6 separate regions of the Homo sapiens genome follow, and regions 1, 2, 3, 4 and 5 are each linked to region 6. Evidence: promoter capture Hi-C in 16 types of primary human blood cells and fetal thymus (Javierre and others, 2016). All regions are on one chromosome and are shown on one strand. The core of a region is centred on a gene start or on the middle of the fragment in contact, and the rest is flanking DNA. Distances in the headings are between cores, read along the strand shown.

Region 1 (3,986 bases), core at 781-3,280, 360 kb after region 6:
TGAGCCCAAATATAGTGTCCCTTGGGTCTACATATCTCCAAATTGAGGGTGAACTCCCTTCTCTCCCTGGGCTTCTCTGACTGCCATTGCAGTCTCCTCTCCCATTCCACGACCAGAATGATCTAGGACAGGATCACTACCTCAATCAAACGCTTAAAGAGGCAGGCTGGTAGCATAAACGCCTGGGGAGTTAGAGGTAGTGCCATCTAAAGGCAGAAGCTAGTTATTGCTTGGAGGAGTATGAGCCCAGAACTCCTGTACGTCCCTAGAACATCTGATGTTTCAAGAAAAACCAGAAATCCAGAACTTTTTAAAAAATATGAAATCTCCTAATGTTTAAGTATTGGCAACTAATTCAATTTTTTAAAGTTAGGTAGGCCTAATTTTATTTTATTTTATTTTATTTTATTTTATTTTATTTTATTTTATTTTATTTTTTGAGATGGAGTCTCACTGTGTTGCCCAGGCTGGAGTGCAGTGGCACAATCTTGGCTCACTGCAACCTCCACCTCCCAGGTTCAAGCAATTCTCTGCCTCAGCCTCCCAAGTAGCTGGGATTACAGGTGCCTGCCACCACGTCCGGCTAATTTTTGTATTTTTAGTAGAGACGGGGTTTCACCATCTTGGCCAGGTCGGTCCTGACCTTGTGATCTACCCGCCTCGGCCTACCAAAGTGCTGGGATTACAGGCGTGAGCCACTGCGCCCGGCCTAGATAGGCCCAATTTTAAAACATATGGATAGGCTAAATCTAACCTGTGAGCTGTGGTGTTCTTCCCTCCTTTCCGCGTCTGACCACGTTATCTCACTGTTCTCCACTGGCACTCTATCTCCTTATCTGAGCATCAAGACTCAGACTACCTTTTTTTTTTTTTGAGACGGAGTCTCGCTCTGTCACCCAGGCTGGAGTGCAGTGGCGCGATCTTGGCTCACTGCAAGCTCCGCCTCCCGGGTTCACGCCATTCTCCTGCCTCAGCCTCCTGAGTAGCTGGGACTACAGGCGCCCGCCACCGCGCCCGGCTAATTTTTTTTGTATTTTTAGTAGAGACGGGGTTTCACCATGTTAGCCAGGATGGTCTCAATCTCCTGACCTCGTGATCCACCCGCCTCCGCCTCCCAAAGTGCTGGGATTACAGGCGTGAGCCAGCCCGCCCGGCTCAGACTACCTTTTGGCCTTATCTCCTGCCATCTTCCATGAGCCCCTCCCCACTCATCCAAATCTAGCTCATATCCCGCAACTTGCCATTCCAGGGACCCACACCAAGTTTTGTAAAGTTTTGTTGTCTTTGCATGTGCTGTTCCTATTGATATTCATTGAGTCAACAAATATTTACTGATCAGCCAATCCAGACCAGCACTGTGCTGGGGACATAACCTTAAACACCAGAAACAAAGTTCCTGCTCTCATAGAGCTTACATTTGAGTTGCAGAGATGGAGGTTACTCAAATAATCACAAAGAGGTAAATTTTTGTGTGGTTTTTTTTTTTTTTTTTTTGAGATGGGGTATCACTCTGTCACCCAAGATGGAGTACAGTGGCATGAGCTCGGCTCACCGCAACCTCCACCTCCTGGGCTCAAGCAATCCTCCCACCTTAGCCTCCCAAGTAGCTGGGACCACAGGCTCACATCACTACACCCAGTGAATTTTTTTTTTTTTTTTTTTTTGGTAGAGACAGGGTTTCGCCATGTTGCCCAGGCTGGTCTCGAACTCCTGAGCTCAAGTAATCCACCCACCTTGGCCTCCCAAAATGCTGGGATTACAGGAATGAGCCACCACATCCAGCCCCAAAGAGGTAAATTTAAAAGGTGCTGTTTTAGGAAGGAGCCATGAAAGCATGTAACAAAGGGAGCTAAGCCAATCTGCACTAGGGGGCCTGGACACCTTCCCTGAAGAAGTGGCAATTGACTATATCGGAAGAATATATAGGAATTACAGTAGCTAAAGAAAAGAGGAGTAGCTAAAGAAAGAAAAGACAAGGGACTGGATTGGAGGAAGGGGGACAGTGATTGGAGTTTTAAGCTAAGGAACCAGAATGGGTGTGGTCGAGAGGAAGCAGGAGTCTGGCTTATTTGAGGAACTGAAAAAGGCCAGGGTTGCTAAGCACAGGAACCAGGGAGGAGAATGGCATGAGATGAGGTAAGAAAGCCATGTGTAGCTGGGCACAGTAGCACCTGTAGTCCCAGCTACTTGGGAGGCTGAGGAAGGAGGATCATTTGAGGCCAGGAGTTGGAGGCTGCAGTGAGCTATGATGGCGCCACTGCATTCCAGCCTGGGCAATACAGTGAGACCCGATCTCTATAAAAAAAGAAAAGAAAGGCATACAGGTAGGGGCAGGTCAAACATGTTAACAGGACTCAGGTCTTTATCCTAAAGGCAATAGGAAAAATACTATTCTGGCTTCTGGGTTGAAAATAGAAAAGGGGAAAAGGAGTGGAAGTAGGGGACCAGGTCAGAGGTGGCAGAAGTTCAAGAGAGGCATTATGGCACTTCAGCTGGAGGCAGAGGCAGGGGAGACAGAGAAATGTGGATGGGATTTTCAGTATTTATGAGGTAAGCAACAAAGGACTTAAGAATGGTTTGTATGTGGTGGGGGTAGAGTGATGAGGCAGAGGAGGGAAGTCAGAACAAGTCTCAGATATCCAGGGTGTGCAGTGAGTTAGGGGTGCTGTTCCCTAAGATACAGACACTGAGGAGGAGCAGGTCAGTGGCAAAGGGCAGAGTGGGAGTTTGTTTGTTTATTTATTTATTTATTTTGAGACAGTCTTTCTCTGTAACCCAGGCTGGAGTGCAGTGGTGCGATCTCGGCTCACTGCAACCTCCACCTCCCAGGTTCAAGCAATTCTCCTGCCTCAGCATCCCGTGTAGCTGGGATTAAAGGCAGGTGCCACCACACCTGGCTAATTTTTGTAGTTTTAGTAGAGACGGGGTTTTGCCATGTTGGCCAGACTCGTCTCGAACTCCTGACCTCAGCTGATCCACCCACCTCAGCCTCCCAAAGTGCTGGGATTGGGAGCCACTGCGCCCAGCCTATCTATTTATTTATTTTTGAAATGGAGTTTCACTCTTGTTGCCCAGGCTGGAGTGCAATGACGCGATCTTGGCTCACTGTAACCTCCACCTCCCAGGTTCAAGCGATTCTCCTGCCTCAGCCTCCCAAATAGCTGGGATTACAGGTGCCCGCCACCATGCCTGGGTAATTTTTATTTTTTATTTATTATTATTATTATTATTATTTTAGATGAAGTCTCGCTCTGTCGCCCAGGCTGGAGTGCAGTGATGCAATCTCGGTTCACTGCAACCTCCACCTCTTGGGTTCAAGCGATTCTCCTGCCTCAGCCTCCCGAGTAGCTGGGATTACTGGCGCCCACAACCACACCTGGCTAATTTTTGTATTTTTAGTAGATATGGGGTTTCACCATGTTGGCCAGGCTGGTCTAAAAACTCCTGACCTCAGGTGATCTGCCTGCCTTGGCCTCCCAAAGTGCTGGGATTGCAGATGTGACCCACTGCACCTGGCAAGCAGCTCACTTTCTGGTTAGCAGGACAGGCAGGAAAAAAAAAAAAAAGATGATTATAATGCAAACATCACACAAGCCTCAGTGGTCTGTGGATTCAAACAAAGCCACGTGAATGCTAATCATCCCAAGTTCCTGTTCTTGCCCCAGCAAAGTCTCCTTCAAGTATTTCTGGGATTTCTCTAGGGACTTTTCACACAAGGCTATCACTGGTCACATCAGCCTTGCTCTGATCCCCTCTGCCCCTACCAAAGGTGCCTACTGTGGGAGTGCCTGATGACCCTGTGGGCAGGACTCAGACTATTATGAGGGTGGCAAAGGGCAAGCCTCAAAGTGAGTGACTCCTTCAAATCTGCGGGCCCCATGTTCTCTTTCTGCGCTGGAGCAGGCCGGAGAGAGGAAAAGTTCCATGAAAGGGGAGCTGGGCCCAGAGCAGCACCGCTAATGCCTGCAGTTTGGGTTCTACTGGGG
Region 2 (4,102 bases), core at 332-2,831, 410 kb after region 6:
GAAAGAGAAATATCTTATGCTCTGATGTGATTCTTTCTAAGCTTCTCTCTAGAAATCAGTACAAATGTCTCCTTTCATTATTTTTAAAAATACATTCACTATTATACATTAGAACACCTACTATGTGCTAGACACTGGGGATCCAGTGGCCGGTGAACAATATAAAATGGTCCTTGGCTTCATGGAGCTTATAGTCTATTTGTGGAAACAGATACTAAACAGATAATCTCATAAATAACATAATTTCAATTGTGTTAAGTTCTACAAAGAAAAGAACAGGGTGCAATGAGGGTATACAACCTAATACTGTGGTTTTCCTTGAGGAAATGATGTTTAAGCCAACATATAAAGGAGGACTTAGCTAGGCAGAGGGCTTGGGGAAAGGACATAGAGCAGCACATTATAGGCAGAGGATAGGACTGAAGCAAGTTGAAGCCGAGGTACGAATCTGGACCTTTTTTATTTTTATTTTTGAGACAGGGTCTTGTTCTGTCATCCAAGCTGGAGCACTTATCAATATGATGGCTCATTACACCCTCAAGTGATCCAGGCTCAAGTGATCCTCCACCTCAGCCTCCCAAGTAACTGGGACTATAGGCAGGTGGCTAATTTTTTCTATTTTTTGTAGAGACAAGATCTCAATCTGTTGCCCAGGCTGGTTTCCAACTCCTAGGCAAAATTGGTCCTCCTATGTTAACCTCCCAAAGTGTTGGGATTTATGGGTGTTAGCCACCACACCTAGCTGGACCTTCTTCTTTTCTTTTTTTTTTTTTTTTTTAAAGAGATGAGGTCAGCCGGGCGTGGTGGCTTAACGCCTGTAACCCCAGCACTTTGGGAGGCTGAGGCGGGCGGATCACGAGGTCAGGAGTTCGAGACCATCCTGGCTAACACAGTGAAACCCGTCTCTACTAAAAATACAAAAAATTAGCTGGGCATGGTGGCGGGTGCCTGTAGTCCCAGCTACTCGGGAGGCTGAGGCAGGAGAATGGCGTGAACCCGGGAGGCAGAGCTTGCAGTGAGCTGAGATCGCGCCACTGCACTCCAGCCTGGGCGACAGAGCGAGACTCCATCTCAAAAAAAAAAAAGAGAGAGAGAGATGGGGTCTCAGGGGCCGGGTGCGGTGGCTCACACCTGTAATCCCAGCACTTTGGGAGGCCGAGGCGGGCAGATCACCTGAGGTCAGGAGTTCAAGACCAGCCTGGCCAACATGGTGAAACCCCACCTGTACCAAAAAAACAAAAAATTAGCTGAGTGTGGTGGCGGGCGCCTGTAATCCCAGCTACTTAGGAGGCTGAGGCAGGAAGATTGCTTGAACCCAGGAGGCGGAGGTAGGAGTGAGCCGAGATCGCACCACCGTACTCCAGACTGGGCAATAAGAGTGAAACTGTCTCAAAAAAAAAAAAACAGATGGGGTCTCACTGCATTGATCATAGCTCACTGCAGCTTCTACCTCCTGGGCTCAAGACATCCTCTCACCTCAGCCTCCAGAGTAGCTGGGACTGTAGGCATGGGCCACTGCACCCAGCTTATTTTTTTATTTTTTGTAGAGACAAGGTATTACTATGTTGCCCAGGATGGAGAACTTCTGGCCTCAAGCAATCTGGCCTCAAGCAATCCTCCCATCTCGGCATCCCAAAGTGCTACGATTACAGGTGTGAGCCACTGCACCTGGCTGACCTTAAAAAAGCAAAGTTTATCATAGAGTTTTGGTTTCCAATTCACAGGGTGGTTGAAAGGAATAGAATATGAGGAGAGTCCCTTAACACATGGCAGTCCTAACATCCCACTGAAGACAACTTGAATGGGAGGAGGGGGGGTGTGGAAAATGAAATTATTCAATGTCTGATTTTTAAACTTGCTGATGAGTGGAGAATGGTTATGGGGCCCTGTTAAGAAACTTGCTAGTCTAGGCAAGAAATAAGAAAGGTCTAGCCGAGCATGGTAGCACATGCCTGTAATCCCAGCTGCTCGGGAGGTGGAGGCAGGAGGATCGCTTGAGCCAAGGAAGCAGAGGTTGTAGTGAATTGAGATCGTGCCACTGCACTGCAGCCTGAGTAACAGAGTGAGACTGTCTCAACAACAACAAAAAAGGTCTATAGTAGAGTAATATTGCAAACATAGAGAAGTCAATGAATTCAAGAACTTTTGTCAGGCACAGTGGCTCATGCCTGTAATAATCCTAGCGCTTTGGGAGACCGAGGTGGGCGGATCACCTGAGGTCAGGAGTTTGAGACCAGCCTGGCCATCATGGTGAAACCCCATCTCTACTAAAAATACAAAAATTAGCTGGGCATGGTGGTGCGTGCCTGTAATCCCGGCTACTTGGGAGCCTGAGGGAGGAGAATCACTGGAACCCAGAAGGCAGAGGCTGCAGTACTGGAGCTAAGATTATGCCCCTGCACTCCAGCCTGAGTGACAGAGCGAGACTCTGTCTCAGGAGAAAAAAAAAAAAAAAAAAACAAAACCTTTTAGGCGATAGAATGAACATATTAAGGCTCCAGGTTACTGACTGGAACAACTAAGGGAGATGGTAGCGCCATTTAAAAGATCGGAAGCACTGGCCAGGCATGGTGGCTCACACCTATAATCCCAGCACTCTGGCAAGCCATTAAGAGGATCCCAGGAGTTTGAGACCAGTCTGAGCAACATATGGAGACAAAAATTTAAAAATTAGCCAGGGATGTTGGTGTGTGTCTGTGATCGTATATGGAGGCTGAGGTTGGAGGATCACTTTAGCCCAGGAGATCAAGGCTGAAGTGAGCCATGATGTTGCCACTGTACTCCAGTCTGAGTGACAAAGCAAGACTCTTTCTTTAAAAAAAAAAAAAAGAAGAAGAAGAAGAAGGAGCATTGCTATAGGTTTTAGCATGAGATCAAGCCCCTTCCCTGTGCCGCAGATTTAAGATGCGTCTCCTCTAGTCCACCCTGAGTATTTGGTGCTGGGATGAATCCTTCATAACATCCATCGCCCCTTGAGCCTAACATTGAGTTACCAATAATAGTGATAATAAGATGCCTATTTTCTGATTTCCATTCTTCAAAAGACTTTAAAGATTTTTGTTCATCTTTTTCACATTTCTAGGACAGCAGAAAGCATTTTTCCCTTTGTTTATAGAGGCTTCAAAGCTTGGATAGGCCCCCCAAAGGTTTTGTTGATTCTTCCCTGGATCCACTCAGCTGAGATATGGCCAAGGACAGGAGATATTGAGCGTGAGACTGCATTTTCATTACCAGACAGACAGTAAAAAGAGAATTCATAGGCTGTGGACTTCTGTTTTCTACCCATCTGTGTACCCAAGAAACTTGTGTACTGAATGAAACAAGTAGAGTTGTGCTGTGGGATGGGGCAATTGTGAGGGAAGCATCCTGGTCAGGTGGGAGGCTGGGAAGCCCCCTAATAGGGAGCTTTCTTAATTTTCTACCTTGTGTCTTTGCAGCTATCAGAGGACTCCTGAAACCTGGAGAGCTACCTGCTGTATAAAGGCTGGCCTGAGGGCATTTGCTGAACACAGAGAAACCCAGGAGAGGAGATCAGCAGTTTTCTTTCACTCTACTTGATCTGTCAGATTTACCCACAGAAAGCCAGTCAGGATCCCTTAAGAGTCTTTAGGCCCAGAATGGAGTCCTCAGGGCTGCAGGGGACTGTGGTGCTAACAATTAAACTGTTCAAGACTTTAAAGAGTTGAAGGGGACTAATGGGTATCCCTAGCATGGCCTCCTAGATGGGAATTAACTGGCAACTCCTACTGTGCCATTCCCAGTATGTGTGCTTCCCTTTAGCCTCCCATAGAATTGGCTGAAACACCCTACCACCGTTTTCTGTTTCCCCACTACCACACCTGTGTTATGGGTGTCAGCCTGTGAGTCCTTGAACCCTTCCAGAGGGCTCCCAAGGGAGGGTGATCACTGCCCTTCCATAAAAGGCTGAGGAAAGCCAAGTGAGAAGATTCAATTAATTTGGGCAAGTTATTTAACATCTGAACCTGTTTTTCTCTTCATTGTTTATTACTTACCTTGTCCAAAAAGGTCATAAAGGGTAGGGCTTTTTCTGTTCCACCTCTGTACTATATTTCTCCCCAACAAATATCTGCCCCTGAGGACC
Region 3 (3,877 bases), core at 427-2,926, 390 kb after region 6:
TAGCGTTTCACCGTGTTAGCCAGGGTGGTCTCGATCTCCTGACCTCGTGATCTGCCCGCCTCGGCCTCCCAAAGTGCTGGGATTACAGGCGTGAGCCACTGCACCCGGCCCTCATTTTGAAGATTAAACTGAAAAATCTATATAAAGCTTATTATATAGAGCCAAGTGCATACAGCTCCATTAATGGTAGTGGCTTTTATTATTCCAGGAAAAGGAAACTATTTGCAAAGAATGGATATGTAAGAGTATGCCAGGCTCTGAACTACAAGTTGTTCAGTCTGGCTTGTGAGTAGGTTATATATAGAGAGAGAATGGAAGTGATCCGGAGAGCTAGGCAGAGACCACATTATGAATAATGAGGGGTCTACCATCAAGACTTTTCTCAAAGAGGTGACAGATAGGGTGCCATTTGACTTCAGAGAAGGAATGACCTGAGACCTCATCTGGGCTCTCAAGAGCTCTTCTTAGAATTCAAGTCTCCCGTGGACCAGATGATTTCTCAGTAGAAAGTGTAGATACCACACAATACTCCTTGTATCTTTCGTTCCCAGGATATGATGGATGATATCTGTCAGGAGCAATTTCTAGAGCTGTCCTACTTGAATGGAGTACCTGAACCCTCTCGTGGACGTGGGGTGCCAGTGAGAGGCCGGGGAGCTGCACCTCCTCCACCACCTGTTCCCAGGTAAAAATAATGGAGACACCCAGAAATAGGATGTGAATTTGACTACTAGTGTCATCTCTTTTAGTGGTGCTCTTATGTCTAGCTTAGGAAGGGTCTCAGGATTTGTATGTTGCATAAAGAACAGAATTCTACAACCATACTCTCACACCTGTAATCCCAGCACTTTAGGAGGCTAAGGCAGGCGGATCAACTGACATTTGGAGTTTGAGACCAGCCTGGCCAACATGGTGAAACCCTGTCTCTACTAAAAATACAAAAATTATCCAGGTGTGGTGGCATACACCACACTACTCAGGAGGCTGGGGCAAGAGAATTGCTTGAACCCAGGAGACGGAAGTTGCAGTGAGCCGAGATCATGCCACTGCACTTCAGCCTGGGAGATAGAGCAAGACTCCATTTCAAAAAAAAAAAAAAATAGAGTTCTAGATCTTGGGCACTTTGACCATAGCCAAGTGCTGCAGTCTAGCTGAAACTTTTGGTCTTCTAATTTTGGACAGTCTTAGCATTTGTTAATGGTCTGACTTTAAAATTCTACCTTTTGTGACTGACCTTTATAGAGTATTCAGACTCTCCAGACCTACCCAAGGCAGTGCAGTGATGAATTGGTCCTCTATAGGACCTGGGGGATCTTGCAGTGTGGGTCCTTTACCCTGTACATTCCTCTGTGCTTTAATAATAGCCTAGTTAAGGCTTCATAAAATCTGCCTAATTCCAGAATTTGTAAACAAATCAGAACATAAAAGTGGCCTGTTTATAAAAAGCTCCATTTAAGATAAACTTTCATTTTGTAGGGGCCGTGGTGTTGGACCACCTCGGGGGGCTTTGGTACGTGGTACACCAGTAAGGGGAGCCATCACCAGAGGTGCCACTGTGACTCGAGGCGTGCCACCCCCACCTACTGTGAGGGGTGCTCCAGCACCAAGAGCACGGACAGCGGGCATCCAGAGGATACCTTTGCCTCCACCTCCTGCACCAGAAACATATGAAGAATATGTAAGAAATTTGAACAATGTGCCATTTCCCAGTACCTAGAAGGCTGCTAAAGGAAGTTGAATGACAGGGCCTCGGTCCTTTATGTAGGTGTCATGGACTGCCTGTAAGATTTGCAATCTGCCCTCTTCTCTTGCAGTGAATGTTGAACTATTAGAAGATTTTTCCATTTTAGGCAGGGTTTTACTATACGCCTGTAGATTAAACAAGAAATAAAATGTACTTTAATGTAGTATTTTATAATGAATTTCTTACTACTAGTACTGATAATACTAAAGCTCGATTTTGTACTTTACTTCCTGCCCACACTTCTTCTGTGGCATATCATATTTGTTTGGGTTTTCTTTGTTTAGTAACCCTTTCTCTTTTGACTATTCTACAGTAGGCATTAACATTTTGGAGGGAAATGTCATGTCCTTTTAATTCAGAAGCCTACTTACTCCCATGGGATGTAATTACCTTTCCTACTCTCTATGATTTTGATCTTTTATTTCATTTTTTTGTTGTTGTTGTTCTAGGGATATGATGATACATACGCAGAACAAAGTTACGAAGGCTACGAAGGCTATTACAGCCAGAGTCAAGGGTGAGTCAGGCAGTATAAGCACTGTTTTTTGTCCTGAGGATGGATGGAGGGAGTTGGAGGAACAGAGAGATTTAGACAGTACAACCCTAAGGAGCAGAATGGTTCGCCTTTTGAGGGTATCTCCTCTGCAACCCCCACAGTCCTGACTGGTCTTGAACTCTTGAGCTCAAGCAGTCCTCCCACTTTAGCTCTCTCTAGTAGCTGGGGTTACAGGTGCGTGCCACCATGCAATGCTTTCCTCTGCGTTTGACATCTGTGAAGCACACACTTGGATTTGTAAATCTGGATAACTGTGAACCTTAAATTATAATTTAGAACCTGAGAGTAACAAATGAAAAATTTCCAAGCTGTGACTACATGGAAACAAGGAGAAATGCCTTTATGTTATTTTGATTTATTATTTTAAAATATCAAAACCACATTAAAGCTCCATAAAATTTTACAAGAAACTTGAATTCCATTACCATAACTTAGGTTCTTTTCTGCATTTCTCTTTAAGACCATTTCCTTGTGTGTCCATATATATAGCTTACCTGTGAATTGATTGAAAAAGAGTTCCAGAATTCTACAGCAGTGATAAAACAGTTCTTTTTTCCTTCTGGTGAGCCCTATGAATACATGTATATATATGCTATATTAAAAGGGTCAATTTAGGATTGTGCTTTTTCACTTTATATTCTGTGGTATCCATTTTTCTTTGCAATAGTTGTCAATTATTTTATAAGTACATAGTCTATACATATTTTGGAAATACTTTACGGTTTAGGGATGGGGCAGAATGAGTATTTTCCTGTATTAATACACTTAGTAAAATGACTGACTTATGGAAGTATTTGAGAGAAAGTTGAAACATAGTTACTCTGTAGCTTCCTAACACTCTGCCTTTGGCTTTCAGGGACTCAGAATATTATGACTATGGACATGGGGAGGTTCAAGATTCTTATGAAGCTTATGGTATGTCTTTATCTCTGTGGTGGGGCAGAATGTACAAGTAAGTGCCTGGGAGAATGCTGGTGACTAAAGTATTGAGAGTCAGACAAACACACCTACGGATAAACCTTTAGAAGGCCAAGATTTTGCTAGATGTGACAGTAAGAGTTCTGCTCTTGCTTAAATTTTGCGGTACATGGTAGAAAGAGGGACTGCTAAAGTGAGGTGGGGTATCGTTACTCTTGGAAGGGTAGTGTTTGTCTTAAACAAGGGCTCAAGACCAGCTTGGCCCTGGTTGGAGCAGCAGACTTATAAGCTAATGTTATTTTTTTTCTACTTTAGGCAGGGAAATAGCTAGACCTGGGTTGTATTTCTGGGCCTTTGCTGCCGATATCTAGGCCACTTTGGTAGATAACAAGAACTTAATCGTACACAACTGTACTCATCTACCCCATTTCATTAAAAAAAAAATTTAGATCTCATTGAAAAGAATGTCATTGTAAAGGAAATGTCAGCTGAAAGGGACCTAGATGGCAAGCAGCTAGCCAGACCAGGTTGCGGGGCAAGAATAGTGCCTATTAGGGCCGGGCGTGGTGGCTCATGCCTGTAATCCCAACACTTTGCGAGGCCGAGGCAGGCGGATCACCTGTGGTCAGGAGTTCGAGACCAGCCTGGCCAAGATGGTG
Region 4 (4,051 bases), core at 547-3,046, 340 kb after region 6:
TGGGGAGTAATTTGGAGCTTCTGATTTCAATTTTTATCCTTTATTTTTAAATATTTTACCATGAGATTTTATCTCTATTTGTTTATTTTTTTATCTGTTTTTGAGACAGGATCTTGCTCTGTTACCCAGGCTGGAGTGCAGTGGCACCAACACAACTCACTGCAGCCTCAACCTCCTGGGCTGTAAGTGATCCTCCTGCCTCAGCCTCCCAAGTAGCTGGAAACACAGGTGTACCACACCAAGCCCAGCTCATTTTTTAAAAACTTTTTTTTGTAGAGACTAGCCACTACACTGCAAAGTGCTGGGATTACAGGCATGAGCCACCTTACCCAGCCCGAGACTCTTAAAAACGGGGTAGGCTTGGTGCAGTGGCTCACGCCTGAAATTCCAGCACTTTGGGAGGCAAGGCAGGAGGATTGCTTGAGGCCAAGACCAGCCTGGGCAACAGGGTGAGACCCCTGTCTCTCTGAAAAATTTAAAAATTAGCCAGGCATGGTGGAGCATGTCTGTAGTCCCAACTACTCTAGAGGATGAGGCAGGAGGATCACTTATAGCCCAGGAGGTCAAAGCTGCGGTGAGCCCTGTTCATGCTACTGCACTTCAGCCTGGACAGCAAAGCAAGACCCTTTCTCTAATAAAATAAAATAAAATAAAATAAAATAAAATAAAATAAAATAAAATAAAATAAAATAAAATAAAATAAAATAAGGCTGGATGTGGTTGGTCACTCACACCTGTAAGCCCAGTACTTTGGGAAGCCAAGAAGAGAGGATTGCTTGAGCCCAGGAGTTCAAGACCAGCCTGGGCAACACAGTGAAACCTCATCTCTATGACAATACATTTAAAAATTAAGGAAAAAAAAAAAGCCAAGAACCTAATTTCTATCGTAGGTCAGGTTCCCGTGGTATCCTGCTGTCCTCCTTTGTGACATTTGGTACCTTTGGAATTGCCTGCCCGTTGACTTCCCCATCCCTCCACCTCCTGCACCCACTCTGTTCCCCTTGGCTCCAAGACTACAGGGACCAGGAACGCCTAGCAAAGTGCTTGGTTTAGCAGTTGACCAAATGAATGAGTTCTCCCACCTTCCAATGACTTTTCTCTTGCCTGGGTTTTGATTCTTCCAGAGAAAGGAGAGAACAGCTCAGCTCCATCTGTGTGTGCCGCCCAGGCCTGGCTCACACAGTTCCTGCACATTCCCCACCCAGGGCAGGGTGAAGATGCCCTCTTTCTTGTCCTGGAGAGAGATGTAAAAGCAGTAGCTCCTGCTGTCTTCACTGCCTCAGCCCTGGGGGACACCAAAATGCCTGAGACCACAACAACCTGTGAGAGGTGTGAGCAGGTGGCAGAGCCAATTACAGGAACAGGACTGGGCATTCTGGCTGACCTTGGCAGAAGCTTCTCTTCCATCTTCCTTTTATTTCTAGCAGCTGGGGGAGGAGGGAATGAAGCCCTAATTGCTTTCACCTTGAGAAAAATCTGCGGCTGACCATGTGCAGAGAGAATCATTCTGTCACACAGCAGGGGGGCTCGAAATTAGATCAGATCAGGAAGGCTGGCGTTTTCCCTGAGGCTCTCGACTAACGACCAAGGGGAAGAGAGGCACTTGGCCTAACGCCCCTCCTCACTCTGCCCTACCAGTCACACAGTGATAGCTGAGCTCTTCTCTTCTGCCCAGAACTCCACAGGGAACTCCCCATGCCTGCCCCCTCCCCACCCAGGCTGCTGTGACTAACGTGTGCCTTCACTAGGTCTTGCCCAGGCCACAACTCAGGCTGCTGGGTGAGAACTAGAGCTATTCTCACAGGCCCCCAACTGCCAGGCAGATGCCTCTGTCGACCCAGCCAGCCTGTCCCTGCCGAGTTCAGACAGGAAGGCGAGGCTGGCCCCTGGAACTACCAGGGAGAGACATCGGCCAGCCACATATGCCTGATTCTGCCCAGACACTTCTAACAATTGAGGCAGTGGGTGAACTCGCATGCTTTCTCCATCCCCGATGAAAAGCAAGTTCAAAAGCCACATACTGTCCTCAAGCCCTGGGGGAAGCCAGGACCCTGACAAAGAGGAGGCATTGTAACTCGATAGAGCAGTCTTGAGTGATACTGATGCAGTAGAGTCAACCACCACACACTCAGCATTGGAGCCACCGAGAATCATCCAGAGCGCATGTGATACTGACGTTAAGCAATTAATGGCATACAAAGCTTCAGAGCACTAGCTGGTCACCTACTGGATCCCGAGTAGAAATTTTCTGTAAGAAATTCTGGGGAAGGCCGGGCGCGGTGGCTCAAGCCTGTAATCCCAGCACTTTGGGAGGCCGAGGCGGGTGGATCACCAGGTCAGGAGATCGAGACTATCCTGGCTAACATGGTGAAACCCCATCTCTACTAAAAATACAAAAAAATTAGCCGGGCGTGCTGGTGGGTGCCTGTAGTCCCAGCTACTCAGGAGGCTGAGGCAGGAGAATGGCGTGAACCCGGGAGGCGGAGCTTGCAGTGAGCCGAGATCGTGCCACTGCACTCCAGCCTGGGCGACAGAGTGAGACCCCGTCTCAAAAAAAAAAAAAAAAAAAAACTCTGGGGAGGGCCAGGCGCAGTGGCTCACACCTGTAATCCCAGCACTTTGGCAGGCTAAGGCGGGGGAATTGCTTTAGCCCGGGAGTTTGAGACCAGCCTGGGTAGCAAAGCAAGACCCCACCTTTACAAAAAAAAAAATTAGCCAGGTGTGGTGGCACATGCCTGTGGTCCCAGCTACTTGGGGGCCGAGGTGAGAGGATAGCTTGAGCCAAGGAGGTCAAGGCTGCGGTGAGCTGTGATCACAACACCACTGCACTCCAGCCTGGAGCAAGCAAGAATTTCATTCTAAAATTAAAAAATAAAAATTCTGAGGAGGCAATAGAAACTGATAGCTTCATACATAGCCCACTGCAACAACTTTCTGGCTATGTGACTTCGATGGTGTCACTTAACCTGTCTGAGCTTCAATTTCCTCACTGCAAAATGAGATTAATAATACCTACCTCAAAGGGCTGCCATGAGAATGAAGTTAATATATGTAAACTATTTAGTGCAGCATGTTGCTCAGGAAGTGCTCACTAAACGGTCACTGTCCATATTATTATTTTATTTTATTTTATTTTATTTTATTTATTTATTTATTTTGAGACAGAGTCTCGCTCTGTCGCCCATGCTGGTGTACAGTGGCGCAATCTTGGCTCAAAGCAAGCTCCACCTCCTGGGTTCACACCATTCTCCTGCCTCAGCCTCCAGAATAGCTGGGACTACAGGCGCCCGCCACCACGCCTAGCTAATTTTTTTTTTTTTTTTTTTGTATTTTTAGTAGAGACGGGGTTTCACCGTGTTAGCCAGGATGGTCTCGATCTCCTGACCTCGTGATCTGCCCCTCTCAGCCTCCCAAAGTGCTGCTGGGATTACAGGCTTGAGCCACCGCACCAGGCTTTTTTTTTTTTTTTTTTTTTTTTTTGAGACGGAGTCTCGCTCTGTCACCAGGCTGGAGTGCAGTGGCGTGATGTCGGCTCACTGCAACCTCTGCCTCCTTGGTTCAAGCAATTTTCCTGCGTCAGCCTCCTGAGTAGCTGAAATAACAGGCACACGCCACCACACCCAGCTAATTTTTGTATTTTTAGTAGAGACAGGGTTTCACCATGTTGGCCAGGATGGTCTCGATCTCCTGACCTCGTGATCCAACCCCCTCAGCCTCCCAAAGTGCTGGGATTACAGGCGTGAGCCGCCATGCCCCGCCCATATTATTATTATGGAGCCATCAGTGCACACTGCAGTATGGACACTGAGGAGAGATGGTGTATGGTGGGGACTTTACGACCATGCAGACCTGGTGTGAAATCCTGTTTTCATTATTTCTGCCTTATGTGGCCTTGGGAGAGTTAATTAATTTCTTTAGGTTTCAGTCTCCCTCTGTAGAAAGGTATCGATAACACCTACCTTGTCAACAGGATAAAGTCCTGTTATTACCAGGGCCCAAGCATGCAGAAGATGCTCAGGAAATATTAGCTGCTGTGGGTACCGAATCATCA
Region 5 (3,844 bases), core at 934-3,433, 430 kb after region 6:
TTGAGACGGAGTTTCGCTGTTGTTGCCCAGGCTGGAGTGGAATGGCGCAATCTTAGCTCACTGCAACCTCCGCCTTCCAGTTTCAAGCGATTCTCCTGCCTCAGTCTCCCGAGTAGCTGGGATTACAGGTGTGTGCCGCCATGTCCGGCTAATTTTGTATTTTTAGTGGAGACAGGGTTTCACCATGTTGGTCAGGCTAGTCTCGAACTCCTGACCTCAAATGATCCACTCGCCTCAGCCTCCCAAAGTGCTGGGATTACAGGCGTGAGCCACCGCGCCCGGCCAGGAGCTGAGAGTCTTAATCCAGTAGTGGAGATGAACCACAGGGATACATGAGTGCTTCAAGGGGAGGAAAGACTTCAGTGCAGACACAGTATAGGGACAGGGGCATGTGTGAGCAGAGCAAGAGGGCTCACATACCACTCTCTTATCCCCAGGGACTGTCCCACTTCCCTTCTCGGGGTCCTGTCCTACTCCTGTAGGTAATTTCCTGGCCTGACTCAGCTGGAGGCCGATGAAGGTCAGAGAATGAGGACAGTCTCTGTGGAAAGAAATGGGCAGCGGGAGGTGGGTATGAAAAAAGCCTGCATATGGGCAAGGGGCCCACATGACCCCCAGGCCTCTGCCCCCTGACAGAACTTCCATCTGATCGACTTCAACTTGCTGATGGTGACCACCATCGTTCTGGGCCGCCGCTTCATTGGGTCCATCGTGAAGGAGGTGATTGGGTCCTAGAGGCTGGCCAGGGACTTTGGGATTCCCCTTTTCCCCTGGGGATGCCAAGGAAACATGCCCAGCCCTTCAGCCTTAGGGTATTTCCTTGGGGCTCCCTTTGGACTTGGTTGAAGAACATTAGTTACATCCCATCTTGGAGTTTACTGGGCATCAAAGAGAAGGATTTACCTTGCCAGGTTCTGCCCAGCCTGCTGTGCCACCTCTCCCTGGGTGGGATCACAGGTCATGCTGGGTGGGATTTGGGCACAGCCCCTTCGGCCTCCATCCAAGGCCCCATCCCGTCCTATCTTGCCCCGACCCAGGCCTCTCAGAGGGGGAAGGTCTCCCTCTTTCGCTCCATCCTGCTGTTCCTCACTCGCTTCACCGTTCTCACGGCAACAGGCTGGAGTCTGTGCCGATCCCTCATCCACCTCTTCAGGACCTACTCCTTCCTGAACCTCCTGTTCCTCTGCTATCCGTGAGTACCCCTCACTTCACCCCTCACTGCCCAGCACCTGGCCCCTGACCTCTGCCCTGACCGTAGCTGGCTCACCAGGCCTCCATATCTGGAAGATCGGAGGCAGGCAGCAACATCCTCTCACATTGTCAGATGACACTCACTCACTGAGGTCAGGATAATTAGCCTTTTTTTGCAGACGAAACTGAGGTGGCATAATTTACCCAGCTCTCACTATGGGGGAGGTCAGAATGGGACTCAGATCTGCATATATATCCCAAAGGAACATTCCCAAGAGGGAATGTATGGGCTTTGTCTCCCTCGCTCTTCCTTTCCCCTCCCTCTGGTTCTTTCCCTTTCTCTGTGTCTCTCTTTGTGTATCTCAGTGTTTGTGTAATCTCTTGGTATCTCCCTGAGTCTGTGTGCCAGCAAACAGCTGCATGGTTGCATGTCTCTGTGTGGGTGTCTATGCATGAAGCGTGTGGGTGTCTATGCATGAAGCATGTGTGTGTGCCTGCATATGCATGTGTGTATGCCTTTGTGCCTGTTTTTGCTCTCTTTCTCCGTCTCACCAGACCCTAGATTGTTGAGGATGGAGAGACTGTTTCGGGGATGTGCCCAGGACTGCCCATTTCTCGCCTTGCATCAGGGAGAACTTTGGTGAGGTGTTGGATCTGGCTGCTTCTGGGGCAGGCTGCTGGCTGCCTGAGCATTAACAGTCGTTTCCCAACCCCCAGGTTTTCTGGTTCACAAAATTCCTCAAGCTGGGTCAATCCTGGTCTCTGGGAAGCTTCAGAGCTGGCACCTCCCCCTTTCTACCCTGCATGTCCAAAAAGGCACTGGCATGGGAGCCCTGTCACACTTCCTTCAGTTATATCTACTTTTTAATTATAAGAGTGACATGTGGCCAGGCACAGTAGCACAAACCTGTAATCCCAGCACTTTGGAGGCCAAGACAGGCAGATTGCTTGAGTCCAGGGGTTTGAGACCAGCCTAGGCAACATGGCGAAATCCTGTCTACTAAAAACATAAAAAACTAGCCAGGTGTGGTGAGGCACGCCTATAGTCCCAGCTACTCAGGAAGCTGAGGTGGGAGAATCACCTGAGCTCAGGAGGTCGAGGCTGCAGTGAGCCGAAATTGTGCCACTGTACTCTAGCTTAAGCAACTGGAGTGAGGTCCTGTCTTTAAAAAAAAAAAACATTATAATGTCTTATAAAAACATTAAACTTTACAGAAGCTTTTAACATGGAAAAAGAAAGTCCCACATAGTCTTATTCCCCCAGAAATCCATTACTGGCAGCAATTTTCCCAAAATATTTTCTGTGCAAGTACACACACATGCAGTTTTTTTGTTTGTTTGTTCTTGAGACAGTCTGATGTCACCCGGGCTGGAGTGCAGTGGCACGATCTCGGCTCACTGCAACCTCTGCCTCCTGGATTCAAGCAATTTTCCTGCCTCAGCCTCCCAAGTAACTGGGATTACAGGTGCCCACCACCACGCCTGGCTACTTTTTGTATTTTTAGTAGAGTTGGGGTTTCATCATGTTGGCCAGGCTGGTCTCGAACTCCTGGCCTCAAGTGATCTGCCCACCTTGTCCTCCCAAAGTGCTGGGATTACAGATGTGAGCCACTGTGCCTGGCCACATGCAGTTTTTTAAAAAAGAAAAATGGTATTATGCTATGCATGATGTACAATTTACCACACTTTTCACTTAATCATATAACAGATATTTTTCTATGCCAATACATACGGGTCTGTCTCATTATTTTATTTTATTTTAGAGATGAGGGTCTTGCTGTATTGCCCAGGCTGGAGTGCAGTGGCTATTCACAGGTCTGTTCCCACTACTGATCAACACAGGAGTTTTAACCTGTTCTATTTCTTTCTTTTTTTTTTTTTTTTTGAGATGGAGTCTCGCTCTGTCGCCCAGGCTGGAGTGCAGTGGCACAATCTTGGCTCACTGCAAGCTCCACCTCCCGGGTTCACACCATTCTCCTGCCTCAGCCTCCTGAGTAGCTGGGACTACAGGCGCCTGCCACCACACCTAGCTAATTTTTTGTATTTTTAGTAGAGACAGGGTTTCACCGTGTTAGCCAGGATGGTCTCAATCTCCTGACCTCATGATCTGCCCGCCTCGGCCTCCCAAAGTGCTGGGATTACAGGCATGAGCCACCGCGCCTGGCCAACCTGTTCTATTTCTAACCTGGACCAGTTCATCCCCTCCTTAGGCAATTATGTGGTCCCCCACTCCCAGGAGTTCACCATATGGATGCTGAACTTCTATGCAGGCACCTCATCGGCATAGCACATTATAGCATAGAATTCCTCGGCTCAAGCAATCCTCCCACCTCAGCCTTCTGAGTAGCTGGGACTATGGGCATGCGCCATCATGACCTGCTGCCTCATTTTTTTAATGGCCTCGCAGTATTCTATGTTATAGAATTTTCACAATTTATTTGTCTTCTATTGGCAATTTTTTTTTTTTTCTGAGATGGAGTCTTGCTCTGTTGCCCAGGCTGGAGTGCAGTGGTGCAATCTTGGCTCACTGCAGCCTCCAACTCCCGGGTTCAAGCAGTTCTCCTGCCTCAGCCTCCCAAGTAGCTGAGACTACAGGCATGCTCCACCAAGCCCAGCTAATTTTGTATTTCTAGTAGAGATGGGGTTTCTCCAT
Region 6 (4,144 bases), core at 799-3,298:
CTTTTCACAGGTATTATTTCTCCCTTTATACAGGTGAGGAAGCTGAGGCTCAGAGCCCTTAGTTTGTCCAGGGGTATATAACTATTAAGTAATACAGCTAGAATTCTAGCACAGTTCTCTCTAACCTGTCACTGCTTTTAGGATGCACACCAATTGTCCCTAATGCTTATTAGCATGTAGATTCCTGGGTACAGAACAGGTCTGAAGTGGGACCCAAAAGTGTGCTTTCTTAAACAAGCTCTCAGCTGATTCTGAGGCAGAAGACCAGCCACTGGGAAACAAGGCGCTATGAATGTTTTTTCAGCCTGTGTTCCTCAGAAATACTAGAGTCAAAAAAGTGACCAGACATCTGAAAAGAAAGCCGGGAGGCGGAGTTTCTATGGTTAGATATGTTTAAGAAATACTGCATATTATATTCCTTTCTGGATGATTTACAATGTACATTAGCAAATTAAGGATTCTGAAATAGCTTGTGGTCAATAAACTTATTCAGCTATACTTAAGAGTATTTCCAAAACTTTAGTTAACTACAGAATCCTCCTATATTAACAATATCTATTAAAACCTCCCAAGACTCAGCAAATGGAATGGACTTTAGGAAGCAACTGCTATGCTACACTTCCTAACTCCAGCCCGCACTGGCCTCTCTCTTTCCTACCTCTCTCTAAGGATGCAATAAGAGAAGTCCTAAGCTCTGGTCATGGCCTCACCCTCACTTACTACGTGTGACTTTTGGGAAGCCACTTAACCTCTTTGGGTTTGCTCCTCAGCAGTTAATTAGGGGTAATAATACCTGCATGCCGATAGGGACTTCATGATTAGGATAATGGAGGTCCAAACACTGTGTAACCCGCACAAGACTGCACTCCCTGGAAGGACTGTTACATCTTTTGGCCTGTGACTAAACTCAGTTGAGCACTGTGTAATATACCAATTGATCTTGTTTTCCCACATTTCGTTTATGGATTTCATCTCCTAAATAACTGTGTGATCGCAGCCCTCTGTGGGCTTCATTTCCTCCTCTGTAAAATGAGGGCTCTATTTTGAGGACCCTCCGGGCACTGGCCTTTTAGAAGTCTACTAAAAATCAAAATGCTAAAGGGCAACACATGTTACACCTCACTATGTACCAAACGCTTCGTAAGCATCACCTCCTGACTCTCCACAACAGCTTTATGAGGCAGATCCTATTATTCGGCCCTATTTTACAGGCGGAAACTTGGACTCAGAAAGGCAAAACAGCTTGCTCAAGGGCTCACAACTATTTAGGTGGTAGAGCTAAGATATGAACCTACCTCTGACACCAAAGTGCACTTCAACACCCTACTATCACCCAACAAAGAATTCTGGCCACAGAATCACCTTGCTGCGGTATTCCTGACTGAATCAAGATACGCTGGGGAAGAGGCATCTGAAGATAGCCCGGGTTCTGACCTCGGCCCTGCTGCCTAACTGCCTGGTGACTTCAGGTAAGTTCTGTGTCTTCTCGGGGTTCACTTTTCTACACGCGAAATGGCGGTGTTGAACTAAGTCAGTGGTCAAACCAGCTCACTTGTGGCGCCTGCTACAACCAGAGTTTCCTGATGACTCTGATGCAGTGTGGGGTGGGTCCGGAAGCCTGGATTTTTATCCGACGCCCCAAATGAGATCGGCGGAACCAGAACTCTAAACCTCCGGTCATGGCTGATGCCCCCGCCCAAGGCCCCCATGAGGGCCTTGGGAGGCTGTGGAGCCCAGGCCAGCGCCAGCCTGGACCTGTGGGGTCCAAGGTCCCCAAATCCTCGAGTGAGCGACGTCAAGGGGGCGCGACACGACCTCGCGAATGTGCGGTCCTTCATGACGTGAGCAGGGCGCGACCGACGGTCCCTTTTCGGTTCTCTACAGCGCAAGGCCTCGCTGAAGCGAACCCATCGTGGGAAGGGCGCGGAGAAAGCGGGGAGAAAGAGCAGGGGGACGTCGGGCCTGCGCCTGGCACCGCCGCTACCTGGATTCGCGGGCCCCTCACACACTCACCTGCCGGTAAGGATAGCTGGCCATGGTGATTCTGACGTCACACTCAGGCAAGGGGTGGGGCTTTCCGCTCTCAAACCCGCCCCTCGTCTCGGCTTTGGGGCTGGGCCCGCATCTGATTGGACGTCCGCGCCTGTCAATCTTGGGTGCTGTCGGCCGACGGAAGTGACGATGGGGGCGGTGGGCGGATGCCTACCCGAGAGACCAGGGGAGCTAAGTGATTGATGGAGCTTCCGGAAGTCTTGGCGGCTGTACCAGCGCTAATGTTCCTCCTTTTCCTGAGGTGGAGTGGGCCGAAGAGGTGGTCAGGTTGGGAAATTTAGTGAGAAGCCTGGGTGGGGTGTTGCTGCGGTAGCCATGTTATAACCTGGCAAATGGGACGCATGATAGTGACGTAATTGCTGGAGTAGCTCCTGAGTTTCCGCAGATGAGCCGCGGGAAAGGAGACGAGGGGCGGTGGCCAGGCGGTTGCCCTGACAACGGGGAACCGACCGACTCTTCCCGGTAGGGAGAGGCGATGGCGGAATTACTCCTCTAATGTCAAGGTACTGGGTACCAGTTAGTACCCTTGTAGTGGGATACAGATCTGTGGTCTTTGGAGAAAAAAACCCCAGATCATTAGAGTTGGAGGAAAATTGAATTATCTAGTGCCTCTTTCTTCATAAATGGGGAAACTGAGGTGCAGAGAGGCAGTTGCCTTGCCCTAGCTCACAGTGGGTCGCCTAGAACCGGGGTCAATGGATGTCCAGTTCTCAGCAGGGAGGTCTAGGTCGGTCCCCATCGTAGGTCAAATCCTGGTGACCGAGTGATCTCAGCACCATGTACTTGCCACTCAGTGGTTCCGTTTCTACACTTATTTGTGTGCTTATTTGATTTCTTTGTCAAGTTCTTTCATGTGGGCTAGGGTTTTGTCTGTTTTTGCTTGTCATTATAACTCCAGTACCTAGTATAGCGACTGACACGATTATTAAAATAAATGAATAAATGAATGTTACGAACTGTTATCCAGTCTAGTCCATCTATCTAACCAAGTGCACTTTCCAAAATCACAGTGCTGATCATGCCACTTGCCCACTACACAGCCTACAATGGATGCTCTTCATCCACGCCTACAAAATAAGGCCCAATCTCTTCATTCTGGTACTCCAGGCCCTTCAGAATCTGGCCCAGCCTCAACTTTCCAATCTTACGGCCCCTTCTGCTACTCTGTATTTCTGTGCTCAGTTCCACCATTCAGCACTTCTGCTTTGGAGGGAGGATCTTTGTTTTATCACTTTCTAACTGTATCACCTTAGGCAGGTTTTTTGTTTGTTTGTTTTTAATTTCCAACTTTTAAGATCAGGGGTATATGAGCAGGATGTGGTTTGTTACATAGGTAAATGTGTGCCATGGTGGTTTGTCGCACACATCATCCCATCACCCAAGTGTTAAGCCCAGCATCCATTAGCTATTCTTCCTGATGCTCTCCCTCTTCCCACCTCCCTCTACGCTCCGACAGACCCCAGTGGTGTATGTGCTCTCCTCATTCAGCTCCCACTTATAAGTGGTAACATGCGGTGTTTGGTTTTCTGTTTCTCTGTTAGTTTGCTGAGGATAATGGCTTCCAATTCCATCCACGTCCCTGCAAAGGACATGATCTTGTTCCTTTTTTATGGCTGCATAGTATTCCACAGTGTATATCTACCACATTTTATTTAGGCAAGTTATTTAACCTCTCTAAATTTCACTTTTCTTAGCTGACAGGAACAAATGTGTAAATTTGAAAATGAGCTTATTATACCTGCTCATGCCCCAAACTTAGGTTCAAACCACTCCTTTCACCTGGACCAGCAGCCCTCCCAACTCCAGTCCTGCAAGGCTCAGTTCCAATTCCATTCTCCACCTAACCCTCCCACATTCCCCTTAGCTCCAGAGTTAGCCACTCTCTCTTGCCACTCCCCCTTTGCACTTGGTACTGTCACTGTGTGGTATTCCAGCCTGCCTTGTATAAGAGTTTTCTTTTGGTGTTTTCCCCAAAACCCATTCCTCTCCATCTCAGAAAATCCACCCAGTCTCTCAGGCCAAAAACCTAAGATCATTCCTGTGTGTCCTTTTTTTCTCCACACACTCCCTCACCTCCCTCATCTCCATTTGC

What was found. Contacts are between HindIII fragments. The CHiCAGO score rates a contact against its expected background, and 5 or more counts as called.
Region 1: a contact is called between a fragment that was not itself captured here and the fragment with the promoter of PEF1 in region 6, in 3 of 17 cell types (total CD8 T cells, M1 macrophages and fetal thymus). The highest score is 6.0, in total CD8 T cells.
Region 2: a contact is called between a fragment that was not itself captured here and the fragment with the promoter of PEF1 in region 6, in 9 of 17 cell types (fetal thymus, naive CD8 T cells, monocytes and 6 more). The highest score is 8.2, in fetal thymus.
Region 3: a fragment that was not itself captured here is called in contact with the fragment with the promoter of PEF1 in region 6 in 2 of 17 cell types (fetal thymus and neutrophils); the score reaches 6.0 in fetal thymus.
Region 4: a contact is called between a fragment that was not itself captured here and the fragment with the promoter of PEF1 in region 6, in 2 of 17 cell types (naive CD4 T cells and M1 macrophages). The highest score is 6.6, in naive CD4 T cells.
Region 5: a fragment that was not itself captured here is called in contact with the fragment with the promoter of PEF1 in region 6 in 1 of 17 cell types (fetal thymus); the score reaches 5.5 in fetal thymus.

Annotation. Positions count from the first base shown.
Region 1 is chr1:32,003,560-32,007,545 of GRCh38, forward strand. No RefSeq gene overlaps it. Among named protein-coding and RNA genes, the nearest start is that of KHDRBS1, 8.3 kb to the right of the region's middle. The HindIII fragment of the contact is 4,207 bases long and covers 1-3,986 here.
Region 2 is chr1:32,056,726-32,060,827 of GRCh38, forward strand. It overlaps a transcript of KHDRBS1 not described here. Among named protein-coding and RNA genes, the nearest start is that of TMEM39B, 14 kb to the right of the region's middle. The HindIII fragment of the contact is 3,085 bases long and covers 40-3,124 here.
Region 3 is chr1:32,036,359-32,040,235 of GRCh38, forward strand. KHDRBS1 (KH RNA binding domain containing, signal transduction associated 1) reads left to right here. Exons shown (of 9, transcript NM_006559.3): 5 at 552-685; 6 at 1,477-1,678; 7 at 2,194-2,261; 8 at 3,157-3,215. Among named protein-coding and RNA genes, the nearest start is that of KHDRBS1, 24 kb to the left of the region's middle. The HindIII fragment of the contact is 3,062 bases long and covers 146-3,207 here.
Region 4 is chr1:31,985,748-31,989,798 of GRCh38, forward strand. No RefSeq gene overlaps it. Among named protein-coding and RNA genes, the nearest start is that of KHDRBS1, 26 kb to the right of the region's middle. The HindIII fragment of the contact is 806 bases long and covers 1,394-2,199 here.
Region 5 is chr1:32,076,127-32,079,970 of GRCh38, forward strand. TMEM39B (transmembrane protein 39B) reads left to right here. Exons shown (of 9, transcript NM_018056.4): 4 at 637-720; 5 at 1,038-1,192. Among named protein-coding and RNA genes, the nearest start is that of TMEM39B, 5.1 kb to the left of the region's middle. The HindIII fragment of the contact is 448 bases long and covers 1,960-2,407 here.
Region 6 is chr1:31,642,828-31,646,971 of GRCh38, forward strand. It overlaps PEF1 (penta-EF-hand domain containing 1), which reads right to left and starts at 2,049. Exons shown (of 5, transcript NM_012392.4): 1 at 2,014-2,049. The coding sequence starts at 2,037. It overlaps PEF1-AS1 (PEF1 and COL16A1 antisense RNA 1), which reads left to right and starts at 1,309. Exons shown (of 6, transcript NR_184313.1): 1 at 1,309-1,469; 2 at 1,885-2,019. RefSeq lists enhancers at 1,779-2,549, 1,869-1,938, 2,179-2,518. The HindIII fragment of the contact is 8,144 bases long and covers 1-4,144 here.